2 separate regions of the Homo sapiens genome follow, and region 2 is linked to region 1. The links are contacts of gene promoters, found by promoter capture Hi-C in blood cells and fetal thymus (Javierre and others, 2016). All regions are on one chromosome and are shown on one strand. The core of a region is centred on a gene start or on the middle of the fragment in contact, and the rest is flanking DNA. Distances in the headings are between cores, read along the strand shown. Region 1 holds the start of PAFAH1B2 (platelet activating factor acetylhydrolase 1b catalytic subunit 2). Region 2 overlaps DDX6 (DEAD-box helicase 6).

What was found. Contacts are between HindIII fragments. The CHiCAGO score rates a contact against its expected background, and 5 or more counts as called.
Region 2: a contact is called between a fragment that was not itself captured here and the fragment with the promoter of PAFAH1B2 in region 1, in 1 of 17 cell types (monocytes). The highest score is 6.0, in monocytes.

What each region holds. Positions count from the first base shown.
Region 1 is chr11:117,141,640-117,149,353 of GRCh38, reverse strand. It overlaps PAFAH1B2 (platelet activating factor acetylhydrolase 1b catalytic subunit 2), which reads right to left and starts at 5,067. Exons shown (of 6, transcript NM_002572.4): 1 at 4,936-5,067. RefSeq lists an enhancer at 3,808-3,987 and a silencer at 4,538-4,857. The HindIII fragment of the contact is 2,379 bases long and covers 3,328-5,706 here.
Region 2 is chr11:118,770,148-118,776,984 of GRCh38, reverse strand. All of the region lies in intron 4 of DDX6 (DEAD-box helicase 6), which reads left to right. Among named protein-coding and RNA genes, the nearest start is that of DDX6, 18 kb to the left of the region's middle. The HindIII fragment of the contact is 1,291 bases long and covers 4,291-5,581 here.

The DNA of each region.
Region 1 (7,714 bases), core at 3,818-6,317:
CTCAGCACTTTGGGAGGCCGAGGCAGGAAGATGACTTGAATCCAGGAGTTTGAGACTATCCTGGGCAACATAATGAGACCCCGTCTCTACAAAAAAATTGAAGAAATTAGCCTGGCATGGTAGTGCCTGCAGTCTCAGCTACTCAGCAAGCTGAGTCAGGAGGATTGCTTGGGCTGGGCGCAGTGGCTCACGCCTGTAATCCTAACACTTTGGGAGCCCGAGGCAGGTAGATTACCTGAGGTCAGAAGTTCAAGACCAGCCTGACCAAAAAGGCGAAATCCATCTCTACTAAAAATACAAAAAAAAAAAAAAAAAAAAAATTGGCAGGTGTTGTGGTGCGTGCCTGTAATCCCAGCTACTTGGGAGGCTGAGGGAGGAGAATCGCTCGAGCCCAGGAGGTGGAGGCTGCAGTGAGCTGTGATCATGCTACTGCACTCCCGCCTGAGTGACAGTGAGACCTTGTCTCTAAGTAAATAAATGTTCTGAGATTTTTTTCCTATATTCCAATGGATCATCTTATGCATCCCCAGAGGTGCATACACACACTCTTTCAAGACCAATGATCTATATAAATTATACGATCTCTTTATTATTATAAGAGAAGGGTCTCACTATGTTGTCCAGGCTGGATTCAAACTCCTAGGCTTAAGTGATCCTCCTGCCTCAGCTTCCCAAGTAGCTGGGACTACAGGCACACACTACCACTCCCAGCTTAGAGCTACAATTCAATAAACAGGCATGGATTTTCAGAGTTCATCCAACAGACAAACAACTGATCTAAAATAACATTTATTAAGAACTTACTATTTACCAGACCCTGTGCTAGGAGCTTTGTTATTTAAATAAACATGATGCTCAAAGAGACCTAAGGAAACTTCTCCATGACAGCAGAGCTGGTAAACAACACAGGACAGGTGGGATTTGAAACCAGAGTGACAGACTTCCAAAGCCTACTCTTGAGCAAATGATATTATGTTCTGATTAGAAAAGACTACATAGAGGCCGGGCATGGTGGCTCACACCTGTAATCCCAGCATTTTGGGGGGGCCGAGGCAGGAGGATCACCTGAGGTCAGGAGTTCGAGACCAGCCTGGCCAACATGGTGAAATCCTGTCTCCACTAAAAATACAAAAGATTAGCCAGGTTGGGTGGCACATACTTGTAATCCCAGCTACTCAGGAGGCTGAGGCATGAGAATCTCTTGAACCCAGGAGGTGGAGGTTGCAGTGAGCAGAGATCACACCACTGCACCCCACTCTGGGTGACAGAGCAAGACTCCATCTAAAAAAAAAAAAAAGAAAAAAAAAAGAAAAAAGATAAATTCTAATTCTAATTTACTAAGTTGTTTCACTTATACTTTCTACTACCCAAATTTAATGGCATTCTGATACCCTGAGCAAAACACTTCCATCTCAACCCTAAATTTCTTCATGGGAAAATAAAAAAAGCATACACATAGAGAAACCGAGGAACAAAATGTCACTTATCTGAAGCTACAAGGCAGGAAGAACTGGGAGGTCACAAAATATTCCTAATTACACAGTCTTTTTGTCTATAGCTATGAATACAAGGTGATCCTTCTTCCCCTACAATGGCAAAGTATCTGAGCAGAAATGTGTTTCTTTGTGTCTTCTGACTCTGATTTTGTATTATTTTGTCAATCAAAATCTTATTACAAAGCAGCTTTCAGTTTTACTGATGCCCATGGCTTGGTAACATTTTTAAACACCAGGAAAAGAAAAACTGAGCCACAAACTCACACAATCTCCTCTTTAAGAACAAAGCTGGAAATGCACAACCTAGAAGACTATGCATATAGAGGATTAAAACAATTTGGAAATCAGAGAAACTGTTGTGGCTGGGTACAGTGTCTCATGCCTGTAATCCCAGCACTTTGGGACACTAAGGCAGGTGGACTGCTTGAGCCCAGGAGTTTGAGACCAGCCTGGGTAACATGGTGAAACTGTGTCTCTACAAAAACCACAACAATTAGCTGGGGGTGGTGGTGCGCCACTGCACTCCAGCCTCAGGGACAGAGCAAGACCCTGTCTCAAAAATAAAAATTAAACTGGCTTTTCTTTTTTTGAGACAGAGTTTCGCTCCCGTTGCCCAGACTGGAGTACAACGGCGCGACCTTGGCTCACTGCAACCTCCGCCTCTCGGGTTCAAGCAATTCTCCCGTCTCAGCATCCCGAGTACTGGGATTACAGGTGCCTGCCACCATGCCCAGCTAATTTTTGTATTTTTAGTGAAGACGGGGTTTCATCATATTGGTCAGGGTGGTCTCGAACTCCTGACATCAGGTGATCCGCCCACCTTGGCTTCCCAAAGTGCTGGGATTACAGGCGTGAGCCACCACGCCCGGCCGGCTTTTTTTTTGTTTTTTTTGAGATAGGGCTTCACTCTGATGCCCAGACTGAAGCACAGTGGAGAAATCATGGCTCACTGCAGTTTCCGCCTCCTGCACTCAAGCGATCCTCCCGAATAGCTGCCTGACCTTTTTTTTTTTTTTTTCCAATAGATGGGGATCTCACCATATTGTTCAGGCTGATCTTGAACTCCTAGGCTCAAGTGATCCTGCTGCCTTGGCCTCCCAAAGTGCTGGAATTACAGGAATGAGTCACAGCACCCAGCCGGCTGTGTTTTGTTTTTTGTTTTTTACCCCGACAGGGTCTCAGTCAGTCGTTAGCTGGAGTGAAGTGGCGTAACACAGCTCACTGCAGCCTTGATCTCCTGGGCTCAAGTGATCCTCCCATTTCTTCCTTCCAGAGTAACTGGTACTGCAGGCCCACGCCACCACACATGGCTAATTTTTAAATTTCGTAGAGACGAGGTCTTGCCATGTTGCTCAGGCTCCAGCTGTTGTATTCTTTCCAATTGAAACGAAGAATTATCTGCTCTTATGGACACATAAAATAAGAACGAACTAAGAGCTACCCAGTGGTAAGACGCAAACTTCTGAGTGACTTTGGGTTTCCTGCGCCTGTTATCCCAGCACTTTGGGAGGCCGAGGCGGGTGGATCACTTGAGGTCGGGAGTTCAAGACCTGCCTGGCCAACGTGGCGAAACCCCGTCTCTACTAAAAAAAAAAAATACAAAATTAGCTGGGTGTGGTGGCACATGCCTATAAGCTTGAACCGGGAGGCAGAGGTTGTAGTGAGTAGAGATCGCGCCACTGCACTCCAGCCTGGGCGACAGACTGAGACTCCGTCACACACACAAAAAAAAAAAAAAAAAAAGAAAGAAAGACCAAGCAGAATGCAAATAAAAGGTCTGAAGAACAAGTTTTGTTAATTTGCCACAACAGACTGTACTCCAGGGGAAGCTTTGTTGTCCATTAAAGTGAGTTCTCTGGGAAGACGAGGAGTAACCGACTTGCACGATTTTCCTGCCTTTTCTATATTCTCTACTTACTATGACAATACAGCACTAGAATTTCCAAGTGCTTATACCAGCATAGTGCAATGTATTTAATGAGAAACCACGTCCAACAACAAAGCGTTATAACTTCTCCAGCTGAGTTAGATGTTTTAGTCTGAACCAGGAAAACAGATGAAGAAAGTTGAACCAAGAATTAAAAGATTTAGAGTTTCCACTCAGACCTAAGACTCTCCACTTTGTTTCAGAGGGAGTGGGTATGGTTATTCTGAAGAAGAAGGCGGCCCTTATCCTGAATGCCCGGTAGCCTCCGTGGGCTGGTGGGTGGTTCCTCCGGTCCAGCACCTCCATAATTTATGATCAAATGCCCAAGCCAACAAACTAATCCTCCCCTTCTCCCCCACAAGGAGGCAACCTTTATGTCAGAACAATGTGCCCAGAAGAAGCCAAAGACACAAGGCACATCCAAGGCAAAGACAATCTTAATTAAGCACTTTCTCCTTCCACTTTCTCCACACCTTTACCCCCGGCCCAACCCCTTCCCATAATTTCAAGCTGTACAAAATGAGGTCCTAGGGTGGATCCGGGTGGTCTTTCCTTTCTCTACGGGTAAGCTCTACAAAGAGGCGAAAGCTCCGAGTGTTAGTTCTTGTTTGTGTATAAATTCTGAAAAGCAACGCTGGCCTGCGAGCTATGAAAAGCAGAAGCATGAGTCACCACGCAACGGGTCAATCAAACCTGTAGACCAGAAGGCACGGATCTGGCAAACGGACGGTGAGCCAGGAAAAAAACATCCCCCCAAACCTCTCCGCTGACAGGTTTATCTAGCTGGCTGACCTTGGGCAGGTCACCAGCCGCTCCGAGCACATTCATGTCTAAGATGAGATGGGGGCTGGAAAGCCTTCCAAGAAATAATCCCTTCCGAGTGGTGACGGTCTATGCAACTTTTGAATAAACACATCCTAAGAGGCAACGGAGAAGTTTCTAAAGAGTTGAAATTTTTCAACAAAAGGAGGAGGGAAAAGTGCTCGGTAAAAACACAACGGAGTAACTGGTTTTGGCCTCCGACCAGACGCGAGGGGAGAGAAGAGTGAGAAGTTAGACCCCTGTGATAAAGGGAAAAGGCAGCAGCGGAGACCCGGGCAGGAGCTGCAGCGCCCAGCCGGGGCGAGCTGGGGTGCGCAAGGCCTACCGCGGGTGGGCCCGGCAGGGCAGGGCAGGGCAGGGCGGGGCGGGGCGCCCGCCGCGCTACCCTCCTGGGAAAGGCCGTGGAGGCGCCGGCCGGCGGCTGAGGAGAAACGCCAGCTTTCGGTATGGAATATCGGGAAAGGGCTCTCAGAGCGAAAACTAGCTGCGCCGGCTGCTGGGAAGCCGACGCTGGGCCCGCAGAGAAGGCGCGCGCTCGCGAGGCCCCCCCCAAGTGGATGGGGCGGCGTGGGGGGAGGGGCCGCAAGGGTGGGGGAGGGGAGGTCGCGGGCCTCTCACAATAACACCTCGCAGCCCCTTCCGACCCCCGCCTCTAAGCCACCGGTTCCCTGCGACCCTGGATGCACTCACTGAAGTAGAGGGTCCGTGCGGGCCCCAAGCGGCTGAGGCGTCGGCGGGTGGCGCGTCGGTCGCTCGCTCGGTCCCGTCGGTCCCGCTCCGGCGCGTCCCTCCTCCGGCCCCAGCACCAGCAGCAGCTCCTCCACTTCCGGTTCCCCTGCCACTCAGCCAAATGGCTTCCGGAAGTCCCGCCCCCATCCTGCCACGCCTCAGCGTGGTTCCTCTCTCCCCGCCTTCGCTCTCCCGGGCGCTGGCGGCGTGCGCCCAGGTGTCCCGCCACACCCCGTTGGGTACCCTGCTTTGTTCTCGCGGTTACCCCCATTTTGTGTGGCGTCTGAGGGACATGGGCTTCTCTCTTTACTCCAGCTGCATCTCTCAATCCTGCGTTCGTGCCACCGCAGTGTGGAGCTGGCATTCGGGACGATGTGGCGTGAAGTCACACTGACGCCATTCCCTTCACACTCAGCCAACTTGGCTTCCTCTTCCACCCATGGAATAAACCAGACTGCTGAAAGTGGGAGGGAAATAGCGGACCAAGGTTAAGGAGGCAGTACCTGACATTTATTAGTGGAATTTCTGTTTCTATGATGAATGTGGAGATTTTGGGTGACCGCCTGTAAAGGTGATACATAGGGGGATGACGAACCCCAGGCTTTTCCTTAAAAGATACATCCAGTTTAGGGGAAGACATACATATACAAAGTCAATATTGAAAAGATTATATGCTAAATAAATGCAGGATCTATAAAAGTAGAGAGGAGGGGCAAGAGATGTGCTCAAGCTTATAGCAGCGCAACGGTTGCTGGAGCAGTGCCCTGAACTGGCCCTTTAAGGATCTCAGCTCTATGCTGGTGAATAGGCAGAGCCTTCCAGGGCTCTTAAACTGATGCGGGGGTGGGGGTTGATTTTGCTGACAAAACCTGTTAAGAATACTGTAAAATCCTGGGAGCCTAAAATGTCAAGATATGTCAAGTAATTTTTCTTTTTTTTTTTTTTTTTTATTCAAGTTCTAGGGTACATGTGCACAACGTGCAGGTTTGTTACATAGGTATACGTGTGCCATGTTGGTTTGCTGCACCCATCAACTCGTCATTTACATTCCGTATTTCTCCTAATGCTATCCCTCCCCCAGCCCCGCAGTCCCCGACAGGCCCCCGTGTGTGATGTTCCCCGCCCTTTGTCCAAGTGTTCTCAGTGTTCAATTCCCACCTATGAGAACATGCGGTGTTTGGTTTTCTGTCCTTGTGATAGTTTGCTGAGAATGATGGTTTCCAGTTTCGTCCATGTCCCTGCAAAGGATATGAACTCATCCTTTTTACAGCTGCATAGTATTTCGTGGTGTATATGTGCCACATTTTCTTAATCCAGTCTATCATTGATGGACATTTGGGTTGGTTCCAAGTCTTTGCTATTGTGAATAGTGCCACAATAAACATACGTGTGCATGTATCTTTATAGCAGCATGATTTATAATCCTTTGGGTATATACCCAGTAATGGGATGGCTGGGTCAAATGGTATTTCTAGTTCTAGATCCTTGAGGAATCGCCACACTGTCTTTCACAATGGTTGAATTAATTTACACTCCCTCCAACAGTGTAAAAGTGTTCCTCTTTCTCCACATCCTCTCCAGCATCTGTTGTTTCCTGACTTTTTAATGATCGCCATTCTAACTGGCATGAGATGGTATCTCATTGTGGTTTTGATTTGCATTTCTCTGATGACCAGTGATGATGAGCATTTTTTCATGTGTCTGTTGGTTGCATAAATGTCTTCTTTTGAGAAGTGTCTGTTCATATCCTTTGCCCACTTTTTGATGGGGTTGTTTGTTTTTTTTCTTGTAAATTTGTTTAAGTTCTTTGTAGATTCTGGATATTAGCCCTTTGTCAGATGGGTAGATTGCAAAAATTTTCTCCCATTCTGTAGGTTGCCTGTTCGCTCTGATGGTAGTTTCTTTTGCCATGCAGAAGCTCTTTAGTTTAATTATATCCCATTTGTCTATTCTGGCTTTTGTTGCCATTGCTTGTGGTGTTTTAGTCAGGAAGTCTTTGCCCATGCCTATGTCCTGAATGGTATTGCCTATGTTTTCTTCTAGGGTTTTTATGGTTTTAGGTCTAACATTTAAGTCTTTACTCCATCTTGAATTAATTTTTGTATAAGGTGTAAGGAAGGGATCCAGTTTCAGCTTTCTACATATGGCTAGCCAGTTTTCCTGGCACCATTTATTAAATAGGGAATCCTTTCCCCATTTCTTGTTTTTGTCAATTTGTCAAAGAGCAGATGGTTGTAGATGTGTGGTGTTATTTCTGAGGCCTCTGTTCTGTTCTGTTGGTCTATATATCTGTTTTGGTGCTAGTACCATGCCGTTTTGGTTACTGTAGCCTTGTAGTATAGTTTGAAGTCAGGTAGCGTGGTGCCTCCAGCTTTGTTCTTTTTGCTTAGGATTGTCTTGGCAATGCGGGCTCTTTTTTGGTTCCATATGAAGTTTAAAGTAGTTTTTTCCAATTCTGTGAAGAAAGTCTTTGGTAGCTTGATGGGGATGGCATTGAATCTATAAATTACCTTGGGCAGTATGGCCATTTTCACAATACTGATTCTTCCTATCCATGAGCATGGAATGTTCTTCCATTTGTTTGTGTCCTCTTTTATTTCACTGAGCAGTGGTTTGTAGTTCTCCTTGACGAGGTCCTTCACATCCCTTGTAAGTTGGATTCCTAGGTATTTTATTCTCTTTGTAGCAATTGTGAATGGGAGTTCACTCATGATTTGGCTCTCTGTTATTGTCTGTTATT
Region 2 (6,837 bases), core at 3,687-6,186, 1.6 Mb before region 1:
GCTGGATAAAGTATCAAAACAAGGATATGCATCATCAGAGGGGTAATTTGGGTGTAGGTATTAGAAATACCTAGGAATCTACTATGATGTAGTTCATGTTAAGCCATTTTATCTACACTGAAGTCTTTTTTTTTCTTTCTTTTTTTTTTTTTTGAGACAGAGCCTTACTCTGTTGCCAGGCTGGAGTGCAGTGGCGCGATGTCCACTCACTGCAATCTCCGACTCCTGGGTTCACGCGATTCCCCTGCCTCAGCCTCCCGAATAGCGGGGACTACAGGCGTGCACCACAGCACCCGGCTAATTTTTTGTGTTTTAGTAGAGATGGGGTTTCACCATGTTAGCCAGGATGGTCTCGATCTCCTGACCTTGTGATCTGCCTGCTTCAGTCTCCCAAAGTGTTGGGATTACAGACGTGAGCCAACACACCTGGCCCACTGAGGTCTTATGAGAGTTCCTTTACAGTAGGAACTGCATCATTCAACTTTTATCTCTAGTACTTAGCATAGTGCCTGTGCTTATTTAGCGTGCTTTGATGAAACTTAGGTAACTCATGTCTGCAGGTGAACTTGGTGTAGGGAACTGCCCAGATTAAATCCCAGCTCTACTCCTTCATAAATTGGTTATTTGGGATCTATAAGTCTTAGACTCCTGACCTATATAATTGAGGTAATAGTATAATACCATAGGGTTGTTGTAAAGATTAAGTGAGATAATTCACATGCTTAGTACAATGCCTAGTACGTGATAAATGCTCAAAAATGTTATGGGTTATTTTATATAATAGTTTCAAAAAAGGAAATTAGTTAATTTAGGAGACGTAATTGTTTTAAATTTGTTTTAAAGAGACTGAGTCTTGCTAAGTTGCCTGGGCTGGATGCAGTGTCAGAATCTTAGCTCACTGCAGCCTCAAACTCCTGGGCTCACGTGATACTCCTGCCCCAGCCTCCTGAGTAAGGATGATAGTGTAGTACCAGCACACCTGGTTGTTTTTTGTTTTTGTTTTTGTTTTTGTTTTTGGTAGAGTCAAGGTTTTGCCATGTTGACCAGGCTGGTCTTGACCTCCTGGGCTCAAGCAGTCCTCCTGCCTTGGCTTCCCAATGTGCTAGAATTATAGATGTGAACCACTGCACTTAGCCCAGTCCTCATTCTTAGTGGATATTTGCTGACTCCTATTTCTTACCTTGTATTAAAATTTAAAATTAACTTTGTTACTTGTACTCTGAGTGTTGTTATAGCATATAGGCAATTAACTCTTCAGCCACTTAACCAATCTGACATCCAGCTTTTTCTGTAAAGTAGAAATAAGTACTCTCCCTCACAGGATTTTTATTGTTAAGATCAAATGTAGTGTACAACCAAAGTATTTTGAAATAGCAAGGTATTGTATGAGTATATTGTTTTAGATACTCAAGGTCACCACTTGTATTGCCTTTTTCTTTTTTTTTATTGCCTTTTTCTTTCCTATTGTTTTGTCCTGGGGATCCATGGAAAGCACAAGATTATGTGTTTCTTAGAATCAATCAGAGTTACAAGTCACAAATATTAGGATTTTAGAACCGAAACAAAATTTACAGATCCCCTAGTAAAAAAATTTTTTAAATTTTTATTTTCATAGGTTTTTTGGGGGAACAGGTGGTGTTTGGTTACATGAGTAAATTCTTTTGTTTTTGAGACAGGGTTTTGCTCTGTCGCTCAGGCTGGAGTGCAATGGTGTGCTCTCGGCTTACTGCAACCTCTGCCTCCCGGGTTCAAGCGATTCTCGTGCCTCGGCCTCCCAAGTGACTTGGGATTACAGGCGGGCACCAGCATACCCGGCTGATTTTTGTATTTCTGGTGGAGACGGGGTTTCACCATGTTGTCCAGGTTGGTCTTGAACTCCTGACCTCAGGCGATCCACTCTCCTCGGCCTCCCAAAGTACTGGAATTACAGGCGTGAGCCACCACGCCTGGCCAAGTAAATTATTTAGTTGCTATTTCTGAGATTTGGGTGCACCCATCACCCCCCTGGTAAAATATAACCTCATGGCAGGCTGTCTTCTAGTATTCTTTCCATTCTTATCTACCTTCTCGTTTTATTTTTGTCATCCCTCCCCCATTCCTAAAAGTATCTCTTCTATCATGCTTGGTTTTACAGTTTTATCCAGGCATTTTTTTTCCCCTAAATATTAAAACTGCCTTGATTAGATGGGTGAGTCTTCTGCATTTGAATATTTGTTTGAGATGGAATTTAGTTGCAGTTTGGCTGTGAGATTTGGAGAATTGGCTGGGTGCAGTGGCTCATGCCTATAATCCCAGCACTTTGGGAAGCCAAGGTGGGTGGATTGCTTGAGTCCAGGGGTTCAAAACCAGCCTAAACAACATGACAAAACCCTGACTGTACAAAAATTAGCTGGGCATGGGGGACATGTAGTCTTAGATGTTCAGGAGGTTGAGGCTGTAAGTGAGCCAGGATTGTGTCACTGCACTCCATCCTGGGCAACAGAGCAAGACCCTGTCTCACAAAAAAAAAAAAAAAAAAAAGACTGTTAGAGAATTAGGCACTTAAAATTATATGCTCTCAAAAGAGCTTTTACATTGACAGGCTGGAACCAGATATACTACAGATTGCTCCCACAACGTATTTCTAGAGCCATCTGTGACCAGTTCTAGGTCTGGATGCTGTGGCCAGTAGAATAATTGCCATTCTAAAGGTATAGCTTTATAGGAACCTAGACTTCTTTGGAAGGCTTAAGAATATACTGTTTTTGTCTGCTTAGCATTATTTGAAACTTTATATTAACTTTGGGGTTATGATTGAGAAAGATGGCCTCTCTCGTTGCTTCTAAACCCTGGGAACACCTCTTGAAGACTTTTTCGAAACTCTAAGAAGGTGAAGAAATGAGAAGTAGTTGATTATTGAGGGAAACATGGAAGCTCCGTACTGTTGGCAACAAAATTTTGTGCCAGGTCAGCTAAGGTCTAATGAGGATTAATAGTTTACTATTTATAGTTAGGAATTATAGCATTCTGAATCCTGTAAATAAGTCATTCTTCCTGCTAACAATCGGTTTATCATGATTGAAAAAAATATTTCCTAAAAACTCAAAGGTTTTTTTTGTTTGTTTGTTTTGTTTTTTTTTTTGGTGTGTGTTTTGTTTTGTTTTCTTTTTGGGTGGGGTCGGGGAGACAGAGTCTCAGTTTGTCACACTGGCTGGTCTTGAACTCCTGGCCTCAAGCAGTTCTCCTGCCTCAGCCTTGCAGAGGGTTGAGATTACAGGTGTGAGCCACCATCCCCAGCCTAAATTAGAGATATAATTAGAAATTACCATCTCCCTTTTTTTTTTTCCTGTTAAGCAGGGGACATTTGTAACAATCATTGCTACCTCGTCTGGAGTAACCATAGGTTGTTTTTTTGTTTTGTTTTATTTTGTTTTGAGACAGAGTCTCGCTCTGTCGCCCAGGCTGGAGTGCAGTGGTGCAATCTTGGCTCACTGCAAGTTCTGCCTCCTGGGTTCACGCCATTCCCCTACCTCAGCCTCCCAAGTGGCTGGGACTGCAGGCGCCTGCCACCACGCCCGGCTAATTTTTTTGTATTTTTTTAGTAGAGACGGGGTTTCACCATGTTAGCCAGGATGGTCTCCATCTCCTGACCTCATGGTCTGCCCACCTCGGCCTCCCAAAGTGTTGGGATTACAGGCGTGAGCCACCGCGCCCGGCCTTTAACCATAGGTTTTTTTTCCCTCTTGGAAATTAAGGTTTGGAAAATAAGAGGAAGCAGTCAGTGTAAATGCAGCTAGTTGGGTGATGTTGAGCTTTTGTTGGTACCACACTTTTGTAAAATGCCTCTCAATGCTAGGAGATTGGAAAATAAACCATTCTTTAATTATAGGCATCAGAAACCAACTCGATCTAACTTAAGCAAAAGGAAATTTATTGGAAAAATAACGGGAATTCACAAGATTGAGAAGGCTAGAGAAACATACTTGGAAATGACTAAGAATTGAGATAGCTCTGAAGGACTTAGGAAGCTGTAATGGATGCACTATAACAATTTAGATTCTTAGGAGGCAACATTCCGCTGGCCCAGTGTGGGCTATGTGTCTACCACTTGGCTTAGAAAATTGGTGAGGCTTGGTCTGTTGGGACAGGGGAGACCAGGGCATATGTAATTCCTTAGAAGGAAATTGGGGTGTTACTTAGTAAAGGGATACTAGAGTAACCAAAACACAACAAATACTCTTCAGTCATTATCTAAACGTTACAGTGAATGTGAATTTGGAGACCTAAGGTGGCAGATGTCAGCCCTAAGCTTGTGGGGTTGGTTTTTTGGGGTTTTGTTTTTTGGGGGTAATAGCTTTATTGAGATATAAATGACATCACACATCAAAAGTATACAATTTAATGCTTTTTAGTGCATTTAGAGTTCTGCAACCATTACCACAATAAATTTTAGAACATTTTGATCAGTCCCACAAAAGAAACCCTTTTAGCAGTCACACCTCATTTTCCCACACCCCTAAACAACCACTGGTATACTTTCTGTCATTCTAGCTTTGCCTAGTCTGGACATGTCATATAAATAGAATCCTATAGTATGTGTTTTTTTTGTGACTGGCTTCTTTGACTTAGCGTAATGTTTTCCGAGTTCATCTGTGTTGTAGCTTGTATCAATATTCCATTCCTTTTTCCTGAATAATATTTTATTGTATGGCTCTATTACTTCTGATTTATCCAGTCATCAGTTGGTAGACATTTGGGGTTGTTTTCCAAGGACTGAGGATTTAATGTGCTATTTTGTGAAAATCTGAGAAGTAGGAAGGGGATTTAATGATCTCAACTGTCATCCGTCTGAAAAACCTAACTTGTGATTTTAAATAAAATAGCAGGCTGCCTTCCCCTGTTCCCTTTTTAAAATAGGAACTGACCCTGCTTTAACCTTATGAAGTTTTATTTATGAATAAAGTTTGTACTATTATAAAAAAAAACATAGAAGGAACTGGCTATTAAGGATAATGCTGCTATGAAAATTCAGGTGCAGGTTTTTGTGTGGAGATGTTTTTATTTCTCTTCGCTGTATACCTAGAATTGCTAGTTCATATGGTAACTCTTTTTAACCTTTTGAGGAACTGCAAGGCTGGTTTCCAGCGTAGCTGTACATTCCCACTAGCAGTGTATGAGAGTTCCATTTTCTCCAACTTCTTGCCTACATGTTATGTGCAGATCTAAGTTCAAATACTGGCTAAAGCATTTCTTGCTTTGTGACCTTGGGCAAACTAATCCTGTTTAGGATCCATTTTGTCAGTTGTAAAACAAAGTACCTAACTTGAAAGTTGTGCTGAGCACATAGTAAGTTTTAAAAAAAGTTTTCGTTTCCTTCCTCCTTTGCCTTCTCCCTGGCAGTTCCTCATAATTTCCTCTTGTATTTCACAGCTTTTTGAACTTGACTTGAATTCTCTTGCTTTTCATTATTTCCTGAGAAACACTGGTAAGAGGCAGTGTGGATGTGCTGAATTCACTGACTGTTAATCATAATGGCCATCATATAAGGCAAAATATCAGGGTGTCTTAACTTACAGTCTATCACATGTACTTTGTTAAAGCTTTATCCTTGAACAGTTTTTGTAGGGTATAATCCCTGTCAAAGAGGGCAAAGGAATAGAAGTCAATGGCCTTAATCAAGTCAGTCAAAAGATGAACTGAAAAGGGGGATTAGGATACCTCTAGTCTAATTCTGTTCTGCCTCACTTGATTGAAAAAAAGGTTTACACTTTAAAGAACCTGACCCAGCAAGTCGTTATGAGACCATCAGAGACCACCTATCTTACTTTTTCAATACTGTAAAACTGAGTAGTGTGCAGGCAGCCTGTTAAAAACTACAGACTACTGGCACCACAGAACCACAAAAGAGAAAACCTGAGGTGACAGGGTAATGGGAGCCTCTGGAACAACTGGAAATAATGGTTCACTTATCTGTGATGAGGGAAGAAATTTAAGACCAAAGGGTTAAAGCCAAGGTTTTCTTCTTTGTTTGCTTTACCTTAATAAGCAGAGTCTTTAATGCTGGCTGTAAGAACAAGACAACAGTATTTTCTTTTCTTTTCTCTCTCTTTTTTTTTTTTTTTGTGAGACTGAGTCTTGCTCCATTGCCCAGGCTGGAGTGCAGTGGCGCAATCTTGGCCCACTGCAACCTCCTCCTCCTGGGCTCAAGCAGTTCTCCTACCTCAGGCTCCCAAGTAGCTGGGACTACAGGTGCGCACCATGACCATTTTTGTATTTTTAACAGAGATGGGGTTTCACCATGTTGGCCAGGCTGGTCTCGAACTCCTGACCTCAGGTGATCTGCCTACCTCAGCCTCCCAAAGTGCTGGGATTACAGACATGAGCCATCGTTCCCAGCCAACAACAATATTTTCACAGTTGTTCTGGCAGCTGTGTTGTTCTGACCATATGGAACCCATTTATATCCTGTGATTGGAGCTCTAGGTAGAAAGAGTGTTGTCGTGGGAGATGGAAGTCATCCTGCTTATTTAGTCATTTCTACCAATAGCAGCTTTAAAGGGCTAAAGCTGTTTTTTGTTTGTTTGTTTGTTTTTGTCGTTAGCCCAGGCATAGAAGGGACAAATGTCAGTGACTGTGAATTTGGTTCCTAGTATCTTAGTTTTAGAAATTAAAAATTCAGGCCAGACACAGTGGCTCATGCCTGTAATCCCAACACTTTGGGAGGCCGAGGTCGGTGGATCATCTGAGGTCATGAGTTCAAGACCAGCCTGGCCAACATGGTGAAACACCCCGTCTCTACTAAAAATACAAGAATTAGCTGGGTGTGGTGGCACACGCCGTTAATCTAAGCTGCTCGGG